Regions from separate parts of the Homo sapiens genome. Here regions 1, 2 and 3 are each linked to region 4. The links are contacts of gene promoters, found by promoter capture Hi-C in blood cells and fetal thymus (Javierre and others, 2016). All regions are on one chromosome and are shown on one strand. Each heading gives the region's core, a stretch centred on a gene start or on the middle of the fragment in contact. The rest is flanking DNA. Distances are from core to core; before and after follow the strand shown.

What was found. The method cuts DNA at HindIII sites, captures the fragments that hold promoters and counts their contacts. A CHiCAGO score of 5 or more calls a contact.
Region 1: a contact is called between a fragment that was not itself captured here and the fragment with the promoter of CWF19L1 in region 4, in 1 of 17 cell types (activated CD4 T cells). The highest score is 6.5, in activated CD4 T cells.
Region 2: a contact is called between a fragment that was not itself captured here and the fragment with the promoter of CWF19L1 in region 4, in 3 of 17 cell types (total CD8 T cells, naive CD4 T cells and naive CD8 T cells). The highest score is 6.2, in total CD8 T cells.
Region 3: a fragment that was not itself captured here is called in contact with the fragment with the promoter of CWF19L1 in region 4 in 2 of 17 cell types (M2 macrophages and total B cells); the score reaches 5.3 in M2 macrophages.

What each region holds. Positions count from the first base shown.
Region 1 is chr10:100,497,182-100,501,762 of GRCh38, forward strand. SEC31B (SEC31 homolog B, COPII component) reads right to left here. Exons shown (of 26, transcript NM_015490.4): 12 at 2,343-2,417; 13 at 1,979-2,077; 14 at 1,524-1,623; 15 at 848-1,026; 16 at 486-612; 17 at 1-99. Among named protein-coding and RNA genes, the nearest start is that of SEC31B, 20 kb to the right of the region's middle. The HindIII fragment of the contact is 569 bases long and covers 1,808-2,376 here.
Region 2 is chr10:100,476,858-100,482,014 of GRCh38, forward strand. WNT8B (Wnt family member 8B) reads left to right here. Exons shown (of 6, transcript NM_003393.4): 2 at 2,195-2,228; 3 at 3,017-3,155; 4 at 4,141-4,266; 5 at 5,055-5,157. Among named protein-coding and RNA genes, the nearest start is that of WNT8B, 16 kb to the left of the region's middle. The HindIII fragment of the contact is 6,072 bases long and covers 26-5,157 here.
Region 3 is chr10:100,445,975-100,450,638 of GRCh38, forward strand. No RefSeq gene overlaps it. Among named protein-coding and RNA genes, the nearest start is that of WNT8B, 15 kb to the right of the region's middle. The HindIII fragment of the contact is 3,570 bases long and covers 1-3,250 here.
Region 4 is chr10:100,265,540-100,270,104 of GRCh38, forward strand. It overlaps CWF19L1 (CWF19 like cell cycle control factor 1), which reads right to left and starts at 2,099. Exons shown (of 14, transcript NM_018294.6): 1 at 2,032-2,099. The coding sequence starts at 2,054. RefSeq lists an enhancer at 1-79. The HindIII fragment of the contact is 22,053 bases long and covers 1-4,565 here.

The DNA of each region.
Region 1 (4,581 bases), core at 842-3,341, 230 kb after region 4:
CCACCAGCCGCTCCACACTCCCTGAGCACACATAACAGAGTCTGGCTTCGGAGGTTAGTGCCCTGCTGCCCTCCTGTTCCATGCGAGTTCCCAGCATGTCTGCAGAGAGAGGGTAATTTCATTAATGGCACAGCTGCCCTGTGTGCCTCTCCTTCTCCTGTTTGGAAACAGGGAGAGGACCATGAGCCTGGGACAAGTAGCTGCAGTTTAAGACAACACTGAGACTCACCTTGCTGTACAGAGAAGGGGAAAGTTCTCACATCATGGTGTGACAAGACAAGGTAAAACAGGACAACAAAGGATCCCCTCTGAAAATAGGGGCATGCACTGTGGTCCCTGCCTCCTGGCTGAGCCAGATTCTAGCCCTGACAACATTGCCTCGCCTCCCACAGCTCAGTCTGCTCCTCCACCTCCCTCCTGCATGCATCCTTTGACTCCATGCTGGAGTCACACCATTTCATCCTGAAGCCTGGGACCACACTTACCACAGAGCTCGGGAAATTTCTCTGTGCCTGAGTATGTCAGTAGCAAAGCCAGTGCCTCTCTCCAGTTCTTCAGGCTACAGGTACACACCACATCCTTCCAATTCTTTTGCACAACACAGGCTAGAAGCTGTAATGGGCAGAGAGGGAAAGAGACCATCAGCCATCCATCCAGCATAGGCAGCAGGATTCCTGCACAGGCCTCCTGTTAGAGCACTGAGTAGGGGCAAGGGATGAGGTGGGGGTGGTTAGAGTAGAAAGAGAGAGGCAGGCAGATACTCAAACATGGGTCCCAAGGTGTGGGTATCCACCTCACAAGGTCCAAGTAATCCCCTCCCTTCTTCTCCTGCATGATGGGCAGTTACCGAGGAGATTTTGGTTTTCTTCTTGGCCAAGTAGCGCTCCTGTGTTTGCTTCAGCAGATCTGTACCCCCAGCCTGGGCCAGGATAATGGCATCAGCAAAGCGCTCCTCCTTCAGACACAGCTCCACGGCCGGACCCAGTTCCCCAAGCAGGAGAGCCTGGCTTAGGAGTCCATCAATATCTGCAGGCAGAAGCATCCCCTGTGCATTAGTTGCTCTCAAACCCCAACTTCCTGCCCCCTGCAGGGCCCACAGCACACCCTCTATATCTCTATATCACTCAGTGTGCTTGGCTCCAAACTAAATCCTCAAGTTTCACTCCTTGGCAATAAAATGTATTTTGGTGCCCAGGTCTAAAGACAGGGCCCAAGACAAGGGAGGGAACTGATGTGGCAGTAGCACAGTGTGAGGTGTGCTTGATCACAGTGGGCAGGGCCACAGTCCTTTCAGCAAGAAGGATAGAAGAAAATCTGTTGGTAGAAGGCCTTCCATAGGAAGGACGTATCCATGAAAATCTACAACCAGAGAGAGCTCTAACTGGTAAGCGACTCACTCAGCATTTGAGACGGTGGGAGGAAGGCACGAGGCAGGGGACAAGAAGGGAATGTCTCAAGTCCAAAACCTCCGTGCCCACCTAGTCCTAAGCAGAGACTCTCCCTCTCCCTCAGGGTCAGGGTACCTTTTGTGATGGGGATCTCCCAAGGAGTCATGTTCTGAGGGACCAGCTCATCAAAGAAGGCTGAGGAAGCAGAGGCTTCCTTTGTGGTGTGTTTGGAGGCCTGTATGAGGAAGGACAGAGGTGACTACTTAGGGATGAACCCAAGACAGACAGAGAGCTGGCTTAGTAGCCCTGAGAGCTCTACTATTTGGCCGTTAATGGGTAAAACTAAAAAAATAGCCAGGTAAGGTTTGGGGAGGGCCATAGTTCATGGTTAAGACACAGCTCTCCACTCCCAGCCCAAAAGCTTAGGGACTCTGTGTCTCACTCTGGTTCTAAGAGAGTGAGGAGTCTGAAGACTTCTACAGACGCTAAACACTTACAGACAGCAAAGAAAAGGGCCAGGAAGGGAAAGATGCCCAAAAGGCAGGTTTCCTGTGTTACCATAGGTCAGGCTGACTGGACTCCTACCACACCTGGCTGCAGAAGGCCTGTTGTCTGTCACTGTTGAGGTCATTTCCCTTGGGCTGAGGACTCTCACCTAGCCCCACGTCACTCTTCAACCATGTGGCCACCTGCAGGGAGAGACCTCTGAAAACCGCTCTTTCAAGCGTAAGATCAAATAAGCATTATCCTCTTTTCCTATCTCCATACCCCACCAACTGTACTCTCTAAGATCCCTGATCTATTTTTTTCTGAGAAAAAAACAAACTCCAGGATGTAAAATGCTCACATATGCAATAATAAGGCCAGGAAGAGGTATTCTGAGGTGGTTTACTCTGGCAACATTCTCTTCTTCTCTTCAACAAGTACATGTTTCTGATGTGAAAAGCAGCTTACCTTCTTCTGAAGCTCATCTTTACTGTATCCTAAAAGCTTTAGGAATTTCATTCTGGAGTCTTGCTCTAAGGTCACCTAAGAAACCACAGAACACAGAAAAGATTCCATTAAATGAACATAAATGACGCTCTTCCTACAACAAGCTGGGTATCTGTGCCAGTATACCCAATATAGTTCTTTGTACTACTAGAAGTGCCCTCAGCAGTCCAATGCCATCTCTTTTTCCTCCCTGGATCTGACTTACTGATGGGCTATCAGCAGTGTTAACATAGCCCCCTGCCCTTTGCACATGAGAATTTGACCTTTCATTGACTTCCTAGCTCTGTTACCCTGGTAGTCTGGTGAGAGTAAAATGTCAGCTGTTCCTAGGCAATATGCTTGTGATTGGTAACTTGCATCTGGACTGGAACTATGTAACCTAGAAATAATTAATGTGAACAACATGCTATGCATTTCCCTGTTTGCAGTGGCTCTTGTAACTGGACAGATTCCTTGCAGGGACTCCGGAAGCTATGCTTTTAGAATTGGTACAAGAGATATTGGCTCTTGTGGGCAAGAAGCTTCTAAGTCAGGGCAACTTACATACCTGCCTGATGTATAGTCTCATCTCCTTGCACCTGAGCTGTCTCTGGCGGGCTGAAGAAGAGAACTCTGAATTACTGCATGACTGCTGAAAGGGCTCCCACAGAAGACACCTGCCTGATGCTACCCTGCTGTGGTCCCTATCCCATATCCTTCCGAGGAGACTGCTGCCAAGTGTAGCCTACAGTAGTCTTGTGAGTCTAAATGTTTCTTTTCTTTTTTTTTTTTAGACAGACTCTTGCTGTCTCAACCAGGCTGGAGTACAGTGGCGCCATGTCGGCTCACTGCAACCTCCACCCTCAGGGTTCAAGTGATTCTCCTGTCTCAGCCTCCTAAGTAGCTGGAATTACAGGCGCCCTCAACCACGCCCGGCTAATTTTTTGTATTTTTAGTAGAGACAGGGTTTCACCATGTTGGCCAGGCTGGTCTCGAACTCCTGACCCCAGGTGATCCACCCACCTCAGCCTCCCAAATTGCTGGGATTACAGGCGTGAGCCACCGCACCCAGCCTTGTGAGTCTAAATGTTTCTTTGAGAAGACCTCTGGTAGAAGTTGCACAGGTACAGTAAACAAAGTCAGCTTCCCACTCAATGTCCCAAATACCAAGGAGCAAACCTTTCTGAAGCCCCCGTAATCTTGGTTAGCTGTCCCAGGCCCTTAATTTATTCCACACTGAAACATGATTTCTAACCATACCTTTCTCATAGTCTCTCTGGGCACCCTTCTCCTTCCATGCCCTTCCCTTGGAAATGTTCACCACACCCAACCAGGAACCATCATGATGGACAGCTCTTGGGTAGCTTTTAAACCAGAATGCCTGGCCAGGCGCGGTGGCTCACGCCTATAATGCCAGCACTTTGGGAGGCTGAGGTGGGTGGATCACCTGAGTTCAGGAGTTCGAGACTAGCCTGGCCAACATGGTGAAACCCTGTCTCTACTACAAAAAAAATACAAAAAATACAAAAAAAAAAAAACCCTGTCTCTAAAAAAAAATACAGGCGTGGTGGCAGGTGCCTGTAATCCCAGCTATTTAGGAGGCTGAGGCAGGAGAATTGCTTGAACCCGGGAGGCAGAAGTTGCAGTAAGCCAAGATCATGCCATTGTACTCCAGCCTGAGCGACAAGAGTGAAACTCTGTCTCAAAAAAACAAAAACAAAAAAACCCAGAATGCCCTGTCCTATAGGTCCCTCTGTCCTATAGGTACCACTGTCTCCTTTGTTTAGCGGAGTAAAGGCTGAACTCCTGACCACTCCCTCTCTTTACCATCTCACCATTCCTGGAACTTGTATCCTGCTTATGACAAAAGCATCATTTCTTATTCTTTTCTTCCCACATCATTCTCTGGCTTCACTGTATAGTCAAGATCTTTCTCAAATCCTCTTTCTCTAACTTCCTGATGTCCACCTTCATAAAGCTCTACTATGCCTAAAGCTCAAATTTCAAGTCCCTCTCAGATGCCCTGGTACAGGCCCAATCCTTTTTGCTTTCTTCTAAACAATTCCAAAAACTTGCACAATCATCCCACTGACTGACCAGTCAGCTACTTGCCTTTCTTCCTTCAGATCTCTCACTTGCTCATTTCCTTTGATAGGTATAGTACTCCTCCTGGTGTCACAGGAAACTTGAAATTAAATGAGAACTGGAACTGAACCCATGC
Region 2 (5,157 bases), core at 1,812-4,311, 210 kb after region 4:
TACAACGTTAGTACGATATCCATGAAGCTTATTCAGACTTCACCATTTTTACATGCACTTGTGTGTACATGTACTCATGTATGTGGCTTTATGCAATTTTGTCATGTGTAGCCTTGTATAACCACAGTAAAGACATTTGGCCATTCCCCCAAGACTTTCTCATGTTACTCTTTACAGCCACATCCATCCCCCATCCCAAATCCTTGGCAACCACTGATCTGTCCTCCAGCTCTATAATTATATAATTTTTATTATTTCACTATTGTTATGTAAATAGAATCATGCAGTATGTATCCTTCTGAGACTGACTTTAATCACTCCGTAACTTCCTTGAGGTTCATCCAAGTTGTTGCATGTATCAACGTATCATTCCTTTTTATTGCTGAGTAATATTCCATGGTATGAATGTACCACAGTTTTTTATTTTTTATTCATTTATTTATTTATTTTATTTTATTTTTGAGTTGGAGTCTCGGTCTGTTACCCAGGCTGGAGTGCAGTGGCGCGATCTTGGCTCACTGCAAGCTCCATTCCCAGGTTCACGCCATTCTCCTGCCTTAGCCTCCTGAGTAGCTGGAACTACAAGTGCCCACCACCACGCCTGGCTAATTTTTTGTATTTTTAGTAGAGACAGGGTTTCACCATGTTAGCCAGGATGGTCTCGATCTCCTGACCTCATGATCTGCCTGCCTTGGCCTCCCAAAGTGCTAGGATTACAGGCGTGAGCCACCGCACCCGGCCACAGTTTTTTAAACTACCCTTTGAAGGACATTGGGTAGTTTCCAATTTTTGACTATTATTAATAAAGTGGCTATGAGCATCCAGGTACAAATTTCTGAGTGAAAGTAAGTCTTTATTTCTCTGGGATAAATGCCCAAGAGTGCAATTGCTAAGTCATATGACAAGTTCATTTTTAGTTTTTTTTTGTTTTTTTTTTGGGACAGAATATCACTCTGTTGCTCAGGCTGGAGTGCAGTGGTGCAATCTCAGCTCATTGCAGCCTCTGCCTCCCAGGTTCAAGCGATTCTTGTGCCTCAGCCACCTGAGTAGCTGGCATTACAGGCGCATACCACCATGCCTAGCTATTTTTTTTTTTTTTTTTTAGTAGAGACGGGGTTTTGCCATGATGATGCCTAGGCTGGTCTTGAACTCCTGGATTCAGGTGATCCACCTGCCTCAGCCTCCCAAAGTGCTGGGATTATGGGCGTGAGCCACTGTGCCCAGCCCATTTTTAGTTTTAAAAGGGGCAGCCAAACCATTTTTCCAAATCGCATTACTTATTTTTAGAGTTTTATTATGACTCAATCCCTAGAGAGATATTCCACTGTTTGTTTACCTCTTCCTAATTAGAGAAGTATCCTTCTAACGTCCCACGGAGTCAGATGAATGTGGATTCAAATCCTGCTTCACTCACTTATTAGCTGGGTGAGCCTGAACACACGTTTAACTTTTCTGGAGTCTCAGATTTCCTGTCTGCAAAATAGAGATAATAATGCCTGAGACAGTAAGGATTTAACAAGATCAACATGTAAAATACCGAGAGTAGAGCATAAGGAACATAGTCAGGAGTTAATGCTAGTTCTCTCCCCCACTTCATGGCAGAATAATCAGCAACCATCACTATCAGGTATATGGTACTGGAAATTTTACCTGGCTTTAACAATGCAAGGAAATGATACTACTTTTATTCATGTTTTTTCTACTAAGTTTTATGTGTGTGTGTGTTTTTTTTTTTTTGTTTTGAAACAGAATTTTGCTCTGCCGCCCAGGCTGGAGTGCAGTGGCGCAATCTCGGCTCACTGCAACCTCCACCTCCCAGGTTCAAGTGATTCTCATGCCTCAGCCTCCTGAGTAGCTGGGACTACAGGCGCCTGCCACCATGCCCCGCTAATTTTTGTATTTTTAGCAGAGACGGGGTTTCACTATGTTTGGCCATGCTGGTCTCAAACTCCCGACCTCAAGTGATCCACCTGCTTCAGCCTCCCAAAGTGCTGGGAATACAGGCATGAGCCACCCCACCTGGCTGTAAATCATCTTTAGTAGGTTTGTTATGCACAGTGTTTCCTGGGTAAAACTAGTTTCCCTTTCTTCCTATTAATGACATGTGCTGAAGTAATTCTTACCACTCTTGGAAGCAGAAACAAGTTGGTGTCTCTGCATTATATTCTGTTTTTGTTTTTTTTTTCCCTTATAGGTCGGTGAACAATTTCCTGATGACTGGTCCAAAGGTAAGAACAAATTCCATTAATTGATATGGATTTCACTAATCTTAGCCTGTTGACTAAAGATGATAAATGCAGATTTTTCATTATATCCACATATTTTATTATGCTGTATACATTACAGATAGAAAGATTGAGACCCAGAGGGTGTTAGGGACACATCTAAAACCACATAGCAAACCACTGTCAGCGCCAAGATAAGAACGCAGGAGCACTGAATTTATGGCTAGAATTTCCAGAGCCATAAAAGTCAACAGCCTTTTATAGGTGTCAGGCTGCAAAGTCACACATCCTTCTCAGTGCCCCGTGGTGGGATGCAGTTTCCCATGTTTAAAATGCTGGAATTGTACTACATGATCTTTACATTCATGGGCATTTTCAGTTCCAAAATGTTGTTTTCTAAGATGGTCATGTGATGAGAACTCCTTAAATTTCATGAATTAGGTGATTTGGGCTCATTTTGGAGAGACAGGATAGTATAGTGAAGAAAGGTGAATAAAGGATAATAGGGACTAGAGTCTGATAAAACTGAGTTTCATTTCTAGTTCTGCCATTTGCTAGCTCTGGGACTTTGGGGAAATTACTTTAGCTCACTCCCTGGGCCTCAGTTTCCTAATCTATAATATAGTGCCTATTTCACAAGTTATTTGTGATGTCAAATGAGACAGCATATTTAAAGGCTTACTCCATTATTTTGGAGGGATGGGAGAGTGAGCAGGAAGAGGGCTGTTTGGTCAGTTTAGGGTAAATGCCTCCTAAGTTCAGTCTGAATTTTTACCCCTATGTCCCTACAGGCTTACCTGATTTACTCCAGCAGTGTGGCAGCTGGTGCCCAGAGTGGTATTGAAGAATGCAAGTATCAGTTTGCCTGGGACCGCTGGAACTGCCCTGAGAGAGCCCTGCAGCTGTCCAGCCATGGTGGGCTTCGCAGTGGTAAGAAAAACCTCAGCCACAGCTCCCTGGACCCTCTGGTCACAGGTTAGAGCCCCAGGGATAGCCCCTTGCCTCCTCGACACCCTTATTCCTCACCTGCTCTCTTCTCTTAGGTCATCTCCCTCTCCAGGATCTTCTCTTTTCCTTTTCTACTTCCTTTTTCCCACCTGTAGAGTTTTTTCTTTCTTTCTCAACACTCTCATTGCTCAACAAATGGATCTTGCCTTACTCCCAATCCCATACCATCCTTGGCCTCCCAGCTGGCTAAAGGTCTCCTCACAATGTAAGTAATATCAGGAGGTAGGCAGGGGTCATAATTCCTCAGACCTCTTAGCCCCTTCCTCAGCAGAGAGATACTGGGCAAGTGGAGAGTGACTTGGAGACCAGATTCCCATGGAGAAGATAAAGAGTGGCCATGCCAGTAAATGAAAGAGCTACCAATCAGAGGTTCTTTTCAAGACTAACTGCACATGACTCTTAGACCCTAAGTGTTCCAGGAGGAAGTGGGGATGGGTTCTTTACAACCTAGCCTTCAGATTCATCTCCCTCCCCATTTCTTCCTCAGGCTCTTTCCAGTCATGTGTGTCAACAGTACCCTAGCCACTTGGTCATAAAATGTGTGACCTGAAAAGACAGGAGGTGAGAAGAGCAGGGCTAAGGCCAGGGATGGGGCAGACCATGCAAGAGGGTAAGATACACTATAAAGATGGGAAGGCCAGGCACAGTGGCTCAAGCCTGTAATCCCAAGCTCTTTGGGAGGACGAGGTAGGAAGACTGAGCCCAGAGTTTGAGACAAGCCTAGGCAACATAGTGAGACCGACTCTCTGCAAAAAAATAAAAGTTAAAAAATAATAATAAAGATGGGGAAATAGGATGGAGCTAGGGAAAGAGGATATAATGATGGTTATTAAAGAAAGGTAGCATGTCTGGTATTTCTTTAAGCTGAAACCCCTCCCTCTAACTCTGGATTTTTGGTTCCTGCTAGCCAATCGGGAGACAGCATTTGTGCATGCCATCAGTTCTGCTGGAGTCATGTACACCCTGACTAGAAACTGCAGCCTTGGAGATTTTGATAACTGTGGCTGTGATGACTCCCGCAACGGGCAACTGGGTGAGTAGTAATGTAGGGATGGGTACCATAGGCCAGCCAACGCACATAAAGAATGAAAAGCCTGGTGGGGGTGAAGAAGAGCTGTATTCTTCTAAATATGAAGAAAATCATGCGGAAGATGGGTGAACGAGTTTGATCCCAAGCCCTACAATGACAAGCCAGGCTAAATGTAGCTTAGAACCTTCTTTTCCCATTGAGTAGTTTCCTTAATTTAAATATAAAAATAAAGAAACAACACTCTGGGGATTCCTCTGTTGCTTCTCTCAAACACAAGGGGAACTTCCTTCCGTGTTGCCTATCCCCGTCTACTTTCCACTCTTTACCTCCAGTGCTGTCTCCAATCTCCTGAGCCCTCCTGACCAATTTCCAACATCGTTGTTCCATATTTCAATTGTACCCCTCTTTCCCCCTCAATGCTCGAGCTTTCCTCATCTTTTTGGCACCATTTTGTCCCTTCTGGACCTCAATCACCAGCAGGGCACGTGCACCCTCTGCCCATGCGAAGAGGCACTGTTGGCAGAGGAGTGTACTGGCACCTTGCAAAGAATCCACTCGGCAACTACTTACGTCGTTGAGCCCTGAGCAGGGGATTGGCTGAACCTGGAAGTGGGCGTGTAAAAGTGGCAAAAACAAATCTAGACGGCAACTGATCTGGATACAGGGCACTCGCCCAACCTTAATCCTCTCCTATCCTGGACCCCCCCACCCCCAACCCAATTAGAAACAGCAGCCCAGGAGGCTCTGCGCCCGCTTGCTCAATGACCTGTCCTCCCTCTGCACTTTTCCAGGGGGACAAGGCTGGCTGTGGGGAGGCTGCAGTGACAATGTGGGCTTCGGAGAGGCGATTTCCAAGCAGTTTGTCGATGCCCTGGAAACAGGACAGGATGCACG
Region 3 (4,664 bases), core at 216-2,715, 180 kb after region 4:
CAGCTAATTTTTGTATTTTTTAGTAGAGACGGGGTTTCACCATGTTGCCCAGGATGGTCTCGATCTCCTGACCTCATGATCTGCCCACCTCGGCCTCCCAAAGTGCTGGGATTACAGGCGTAAGCCACCGCACCTGACCAATTTTAGTTTTTTCTAAAGAGAGGGTCTTACTTCATTGCCCAGGCTGGTCTCAAATTTCTGGCTTCAAGTGATCCTCCCACCTTGACCTCCCAAAGTGAATTCATTATTTTAAAAATCTTTAATGAAACTAGACATAGATGTGAACTTCCTCAATCTGATAAAGCCTCTACAAAGCTCTTTGTATTAGTTATCCATTGAAGCATAACAAATGACCCCGAAATTTGATAGCTTAACACACTGAAACACATTTATGATCTCACACAGTTTATATGGGTGAGAAATTCGGGCAGCTTAGCTGAGTGCTTCCAGTTTAGTATTTCCCATGATGTTGCAGTCCAGAACATTGGCCAGTACTGCAGTCATCTGAAGGTTTGACTGGGGCTGGAGGATCCTCTTTCTAGGTGGCTGACTCACAGAGCTGGCAAATTGATGTTGGTTGCCAGCAGGAGGCCTCCTTGCTGCAGTGACCCTTCCATAGAGCTGCTTGAGTGTCCTTCCAACACAGCAGCTGGCTTTCCCCCAGAGCAGGCAGACCGAGAGAGCAAGATGGAAACAATATCTTTTATAGTCTAGCCTCAGAAGTCACACGTGACCATTTCTGCAATATCCTATTACACAGGTCAGCCCTCTTCAGATATGGGATGTGAATATCATTAGGCAAAGATCATTTGGAGCCATATAGAGACTGGCTATCACAATTTCATGTCATATATCTTCTTTCATGGTGAAACACTGAAATTATTCCATTTCATTAACAAGACAAAAGTTGCCACTATCATTTCTATTCTATTGAACTAGAGGTCTTAGTTGACACAGTAAAATTGAACAAGAAATAAAAGGAAGAAACAGTCACTATTTTCAGATCACATATGTCAATATAAAAAAATGCAAAAGAATATCCCACAAAGTGTTAGAATTAAAGTGAGTAATGTTTCTGAATACAAAGTGAATATTAAAAAATAAATTGTGCCAGCAACAATTGGAAAGTACAATTTCAGGACCAGGCTCATCACCCTCCCACCTTCTGGAGTCTTCAGTGTCTATTATTCCACTCTGTGTGTCTATGTGCACTCATTGTTAGCTCTCATGAATAAGTGAAAACATACTGTTTTCTGCTTTCTGCTTCTGAGTCATTTCAATAAGGATAATGGCCTCCAAAACATCGTATTTAACGATGAAATATTAGAAGCATTTCCACCAAAATAGGATAAGATCAGGAGGCCCATTACCGTCACCAATATTACATTCAAGTTTAGTCAATGCAACAAAAGAAGAAAAAGAATAGAGAAATATAAATATTGAAAAGGAAAGGCAATTTGGTAATATCTATTAACACTTTAAGTATATATATTCACAAGTTTTAGGTGGCCAAGTGAACACATACAGTTTTTCCCTCTCACTACAGGAACCCCACCCTATTATAATGATGACAAATAACATAGAAATAAATAAAACTTAGAGTGGTGAAAAAAATGAAGGGGCCCATCAGCAAATGAAGATTTCAACCAACTTTTTGAAGTTAGAGATAAGGAAAGGGTAATGAAGCCAAGAAGAAGCAGCTACTGCCTAGGGTTTTTGTGGAGGGGGTGGCAGCCAAGGACACTGGGTAGTCCCCAGGATCCAGGAGGAGCTTTTAGCTGGAGCCCCACATACAACAGAGGGAGCAAATGAGATGTGGGAGTTACTGATTAAAAGTCTGTACATAGAACAGCTGGCCCATCAATTTCGCTCTCCCTTCATCAGCCAAGCACCTGCCCCTCCAGTAAATAATTGATGAGTTCTCCTCAAAATAACTCAAATGGCTCAATAAGAAAGGGCTCAATACCCAGAATGCAGGCTCTGGCATCACAGAACTTTCTTTCATCTGTTGAATGGGATTTGACCACCCAGATAAAAAGTTCCAAAGTGATAAAATCTGAGATTATACAACATCTGAATGTGAGTAAAAGGTTTGCTGCAGGGTTTGGGGGTGTATTTTGGTTGTTGTTATTGTTGTTGTTTTGAGATAGGGTCTCACCCTGTCTCCCAGGCTGCAGTACAGTGGTATAATCTTGGCTCACTGCAGCCTTGACTTCCCAGGCTCCAGTGAACCTCCCACCTCAGCCTCCCAAGTAGTTGGGACTACATGCGCGAGTCACCATGCCAGACTAACTTTTGTATTTTTGGTAGACAGAGAGTTTTGCCATATTGATTAGGCTGGTCTCAAACTCCTGAGCTCAAGTTTTCCACCCGCCTTGGCCTCCCAGTGCTGGGATTACAGGTGTAAGCCACTATGACCGGCCCGTTGGAGTTTTTAGAGTGAAATATTTAAAGGTATATGTCCTATATGTTATGGATTGAGTTGTGTCCTCCTAAAAGATATATTGCAGCCCTAAGCTCCAGTACCTCAGCATGTGACTTTATTTGGAAATAGAGTTGTTGTGGCAGATGTAATTAGTCAATTTAACATGAGGTCATGCTGGAGTAGTGTGGGCTCTTAATCCAACACAAATGGTGTCCTTCTAAGAAGAAAAGAGGCCGGGGCAGTGGCTCACACCTGTAATCCCAATACTTTGGGAGGCCAAGATGGGAGGATCGCTTGAGGCCAGGAGTTTGAGACCAACCTGGGCAACATAGTGAGACCTTGTCTCTAAAAACATATAAGAATTAGCCAGGTGTGGTGGCGTGCACCTGTAGTCCTAGCTACTCAGGAGGCTGTGGCAGGAGGATCACTTGTTCCCAGGAGTTCAGGGCTGCAGTGAGCCATGACTGCACCACTGCACTCCAGCCTAGGGGACAAGCGAGACTCTGTCTCTAAAAATAAATAAATAAAAATTTTAAAAATGAAGAAGAAGAAGAAGGAAGAGAAGAAGAAGGAGAAGAAAGAAGAAGAAGGAGGAGGAGGAGGAGAGAAAGAAGGAGGGAACACCGTGTGATGACAGAGGCTGAGAATAGAGTGATGTGTCCACAAGCCAAGAAATGCCAAGGATCGCCAGCAACACCAGAAGCAAAGAGTAAGGCTTGGAACAGATTCTTTCTCTGAGCCCCCAAAGAGGAACCAATCCTGCTGACACCTTAATTTTAAACTTCTGCTCTCTAAACTGTGAGAGAATACATTTTGGTTGTTTTAAGCTTCCCATTTTGCAGTGCTTTGTAATACAGCGGCAGCCCTAGGAAACGAATACATCTTCCACATTAGTTTTCTATATCAAGTTGTTTTTTCTCAAGATTGTATTTCTTCCAATCTTGGCATCCTTGAAAAGCCAGTGGAAATGGACTAGCAAAGTAAAAAGGAATGGGTTAACCAGAATCCCTCAGTCACCGATTACTTCCTGCCTAGACTTTATTTTTATTTATTTATTTATTTTTGAGGTAGAGTCTCACTCCATCACCCAGGCTGGAGTGCAGTGGCACAATCTTGGCTCACTGCAAACTCTGCCTTTCGGGCTTAAGCAATTCTCATGCCTCAGCCTCCCAAGTAGCTGGGATTACAGGAGTTACAGGAGTGAGCCACCACGTCTGGCTAATTTTTGTATTTTTTTAGTCGAGATGGGGTTTCACCTTGTTGGCCAGGCTGGTCTCGAACTCCTGACCTCAGGTGATCCACCCACCTCGGCCTCCCAAAGTGCTGGGATTACAGACGTGAGCCACTGCGCCTGGCCCCTGCCTAGACTTTCCTTACACAAAAGATAATTCTGAGTAGAGGTCAGTTACCATGAAAGAGGATCATTGCCACAAGTTATATTATTCAACATTAAACTGCCTCAGCCAGGTGTCACTTATTGAAGTTGATGCAGTCCTTTTTGGTTGTGCAAAGACACACTCGGCTTCTATCTACTACTCTAGGGCTTCTAGATTCTCTAAATCTTTTTCTCCTTGTCATCTATTTTAGAGCTCATTTTGCTATCTCGTGTTTCTCCTTTCTGCTCTCACTATTCTTCTTTTGAAAAAAAATACATGGAATATTCAGGAAACAGGAGAAGCCCAACTTGACAGAGACACTATTTTCCTCTCTGTCATTCTCTCTCTCATCCAAATTTCCAGGGAAGGAAACCTGATTGGCTCAGCTGGGGAGAGTACCCACTTAGTTACCCACTTAGTTACATCATTTATGGTCAGGGCTGAGGTCATGTGGTACAAAATTACTGCCAGAGGCCCCCCACTGGAGGTTAGATAGCCTATAAACTGCCCATGAGCTGGGCAGACACTCCAAAAGCACTCTGCTATTAGTTGTAATAATTCAATGAACACCCTTGTGTATAATCTTTATAAACATCATATGATTACTTCCTTAAAATAAATTCCTAAAGGTGGAATTTTTGGGTCAAAGTGTATTAATATGATTAAAGTTTTAAATTCATGTTATCAAATTCATCTCAAAAGCATTGGATTAATTCACACTCCTATTAGCAGTATATAAAATAGCCATTTGACAACACAATATTGGATCTTATTTTTTTAAATCTTTGCCAATTTGATGAGTTAGGTGATGTCTTGTTATTTTAATCTTCCTTTTATAATCAGTAAAGGTAAATTTTTTTTTT
Region 4 (4,565 bases), core at 849-3,348:
TGAGACAGTCTCGCTCTGTCGCCCAGGCTGGAGTGCAGTGGTGCGATCTCGGCTCACTGCAACCTCTGCCTCCCAGGCTCAAGCCATTCTCCTGCCTCAACCTCTTGAGTAGCTGGGATTACAGGCGCCCGCTACCACACCCGGCTAATTTTTGTATGTTTAGTAGACACAGGGTTTCACCATGTTGGCCAGGCTGGTCTTGAACTTCTGACCTCAGGTGATCCACCCACCTCGGCCTCCCAAAGTGTTGGGATTACAGGCATAAGCCACCACACCCGGCCAGGTGTTTTCACTGTACCCTTTCTATATTTAAATACAAAAATGCTTACCATTGTGTTACAATTGCCTACAGTATTCAGTACAGTAACTTGACGTACAGCTATACCATTTAGCCTAGGTGTACAGGAAGCCATACCATCTAGGTCTCTGGAAGTACACTCAAAGATGTTCGCACAATGACGAAATCGCCTACCAACTCATTTCTCAGAACATAACCCTGCTGTTAAGCAATGGATTACTCTTATTTCCCAAGGCTCAATCCTAACATTCTCGGGAAGCCTTCTTGACTCCTATCATTAAGCCAAATACCCCTCTTATGCACTCTCCCAGATTCACGAATATTTTCTTCCCAAAAGTTACCACTATTGCAATTTTTTTTTTTTTTTTTTTGAGACAGGGTTTCAATCTGTCACCCAGCCTGGAGATCAGCAGCACGATCACAGCTCACTGCAGCATCGACCTCCCCAGGCTCAGGTGGTCCACCTGCTTCAGCCTCCCAATTAGCTGGGACCACCACGCCCGGCTAATTTTTTTTTTTTTCTGTATTTTTTGTAGAAACGGGGCCTTGCTATATTGCCCAGGCTGGTCTTGAATTCCTGGACTCAAGTGATTCTCTTGCCTTGGCCTCCGGAGTCGCTGGGATTATAGGCGTGAGCCACTGCGCCTGGCCCTATCACTATGGTAACTTTACATTTATCTGAATTCCTTTTTTTTTAGACGGAGTCTCACTCTGTTACCTAGGCTGGAGTGCAGAGGTGCAGTGTCGGCTCACTGTGCAACCTCCGCCTCCGGGTTCAAGCGATTCTCCTGCCTCAGCCTCCCAAGTAGCTGGGATTACAGGCACGCGCCACCACGCCTGGCTAATTTTTTTTTTTTGTATTAGTAGAGACGGGGTGTCACCACGTTGGCCAGGCTGGTCTCGAACTCCTGACCGCAAGTGATCCGCCCGCCTCAGCCTCCCAAAGTGCTAGGATTACAGGCGTGAGCCACCGCGCCCGGCCATTATTTGTATTGTTTTTTGTTTGTTTTGTTTTGTTTTGTTTTGTTTTGAGAGTCTCGTTCTGTCGCCCAGGCTGGAGTGCAGTGGCGCGATCTCGGCTCACAGCAACCTCCGCCTCCCGGGTTCAAGCGATTCTCCTGCCTCAGCCACCGCGCCCGGCCCATTATCTGGATTCTTTAGTACCTGTTCCTCTAGACTCTACGCTCCATTAAAGCAGGAACTCCATCTGTTGCAACACCTAGCACAGCGTCCGGCACACTGCAGTTCTTCAATAAATACTTGCTGCATGAAGCCCTCTCTTCACCACCACCCCCACCCCTCCTCCTCGCAAAAAAAAAAAAAAAAAAAAAATGCCCCAGGGAAGGGTCCCTATCTACTCTGTCCACCACTGCCCAGGGCCCATCAGTGGGCCCAATGGCTATTTGGCGAGTAAATAAATGGGGTCAGGAGAAACGAAGGGGAAAGGATGTGTCAGAGGCCAGGACTGCCCCCTAAGATGGAGGAGGCCTAACTCTGGGAGCTTCCGCCTCTCCGAACGAGCGTCGCCAAGAGAAACCCCCTCAGAAGCGAAAAGGGCCAGGAAAAGAGGTCAGCCCCGGCCAGGCAAAGACATCACCTAAGCTCCCCAGCAGCCCCGTGTCTCTCCGCCTTTTCCTTCTCCCTTCCCGTCATGGGAAAGACTCCCGCCCGTGTCGTCACCTACACACACGAAAGAGACACAGGGAGAGAGGCTTCCATTCACGGTCACTCACAGGCGCAGCGGTTTCTGTGCCATCTGTCCGAATAGTATGGGTTGCGACTGCCACCTAAAATTGGGAATGCGAATCCGCGCTCCCCGGAAAAATGCGACCGCGCAACAATCAGACGTCAGCGCCCTCCAGCCAATAACGGTTCACTTACTTACGGAGACCGCCGAGGGACAGAAGCCTCTCTCAGGTGTTTGCGCCTCAAGGAAGAATCAAGAGGGAAAGGGAGGAACGAAGGGAGAAAGAGAAAGTGACCGAAAGGATTCCAACTATGATTTTTTAAATTAAATTTCAGAGCACTTGAAGCGAATGAATGGCTAGGAAGTACAGAGCACAATGTCGGGTTCTAACCTAACCTAACCTAACCTAACCTAACCTAACCATATCGGTCTAGTGGGCAAGACAGACCCCCTCTATCCACGTTTTTTGTAAGTTTTTAACCTATCAAAAAGTTAAGAGGCCGGGCGTGGACGCTCACGCCTATAATCCCAGCACTTTGGAAGGCTGAGGCGGGCGGATCACTTGAGGTCGGGCGTTCAAGACCAGCCTGGGCAACATGGTGAAACCCCGTCTCTTCTAAAAATACAAAAATTAGCCGGGCATGGTGGAGAATTGCTTCAACCAGGGAGGCGGGGGTTGCAGTGAGTCAAGATCGCGCCATTGCACTCCAGCCTGGACAACAAGAGCGAAACTCCGTCTCAAATTAAAAAAAAAAAAGTTAAAAGAATAATGGCTATTACCTTGATTCAGTAAGTCTCAGCATGTTGGCAAATTTGCTTGTGTTCTCTTTCTCTCAAAGTGCCCAAGCCCTTCCATTCTCACTCAATCATTTGAAAGTAAAGTACAGGCCGGGCGCAGTGGCTCACGCCTGTAATCCCAGCACTTTGGGAGATCCAGACCATCCTGGCTAACACGGTGAAACCCCCTCTCTACTAAAAATACAAAAAATTAGCCGGGCGTGGTGGCACGCACCTGCAGTCCCAGTTACTCGGGAGGCTGAGGCAGGGGAATCGCTTGAACCCAGGAGGAGGAAGTTGCAGTGAGCCGAGATCGCGCCACTTCACTCCAGCCTGGGCGACAGAGCGAGACTCCGTGTCAAAAAATAAAATAAAATAAAGTGCGGACAACAGGAATACATCTCCATTTATCTCCTAAGATTAGGATATCCTCCTACATAACCGTAATACTATTAACACAGCTAAGAAAATTAACATTAATTATTCAATAATATTACCTAATATACATCCATATTTAAAGTTCTCCATATTTCCCTACAAACTGATTTTATATTTGGGGCTTGTTTTGATTCAGATGCAATCAAGTTTCACACTTGCATTTGGTTCTGTCTCTATTTTAATCTACAAAAGCCCTCCTACCTATTTGGTTTTAGTTTTTGTAATATTGACTTTTTTGAAGGGTTCAGGCCAAGTGGTAGGAAACAAGTGTGTAAGGAAATGGAAACAAGAGAGAGTTCCTGACGACTGCGGGGAAAGGAAGACTCATCAAGGGCATCTAAATAATTCAAAATTAATAAAACATAAGATTAAAGAAGAACTACAGGCCAGGCACAGTGGCTCATGCCTGTAATCCCAGCACTTTGGGAGGCTGAGGCGGGAGGTTCACTTGAGAACAGGAGTTCAAGGCCAACCTGGGCAACATAGCCAGACCTCGTCTCTACTACAAATTTAAAAAGAAAAAAAAAAAAGTTAGCTGGGCATGGTGGCCGTATGCCTGTACTCCCAGGTACTCCAGAGGCTGAGGTGGGGAGATCACTTGAGCCCAGGAGATGGAGGCTTCAGCGAGCTATTACCTTGCCACTGCACTCCAGCCTGGGTGACACAGCAAGCCCTGTCTCAATAACCAAACAAAACTACAAAGTTCTGGCTTTTCCCACAGCCTACAAGCCTTCTTTTTTGTTTGTTTCTTGCCTCATAACTGGTGGCTCTGCTTTGCTGGCACATAAGCATGCATTTTTTCCTACTCTTTGGATAATACAGCACTGCCCAGGAGTAGCACTCAAGACTGAATCTTGAAGAAGAGTAGAAGTTTGCCAAACATGAGCAGGTAATAATTCCCAGAAGAGGATACAAAAGTAAGACATAAAAACTCATCGTATTGAAAAATCAAAAGACTCCACGAAAAAGACTGTTAGAAATAATAAACGAATTCAGTAAAAGTTTCAGGATACCAAATCAACATACAAAAATCAGTAGCATTTATATGCACCAACAGTAAACAATCTGAAAAAGAAATCAAAAAAGCAATCTCATTTACAACAGCTACAAAGAATATAAACTACGTAGGAATCAATTTAACTAAAGAAATGAAAGATCTATACAAGGAAAACTATACAATACTGATGAAAGAGGACACACACACAAAAAGGAAAGATATTCCACGCTTATGGATTAGAAGAATTAGGCGGGCAGATCACGAGGTCAGGAGATCGAGACCTTCCTGGCTAACACGGTGAAACCCCGTCTCTCCTAAAAATACAAAAAAATTAGCCAGGCGTGGTAGCGGGCGCCTGTAGTCCCAGG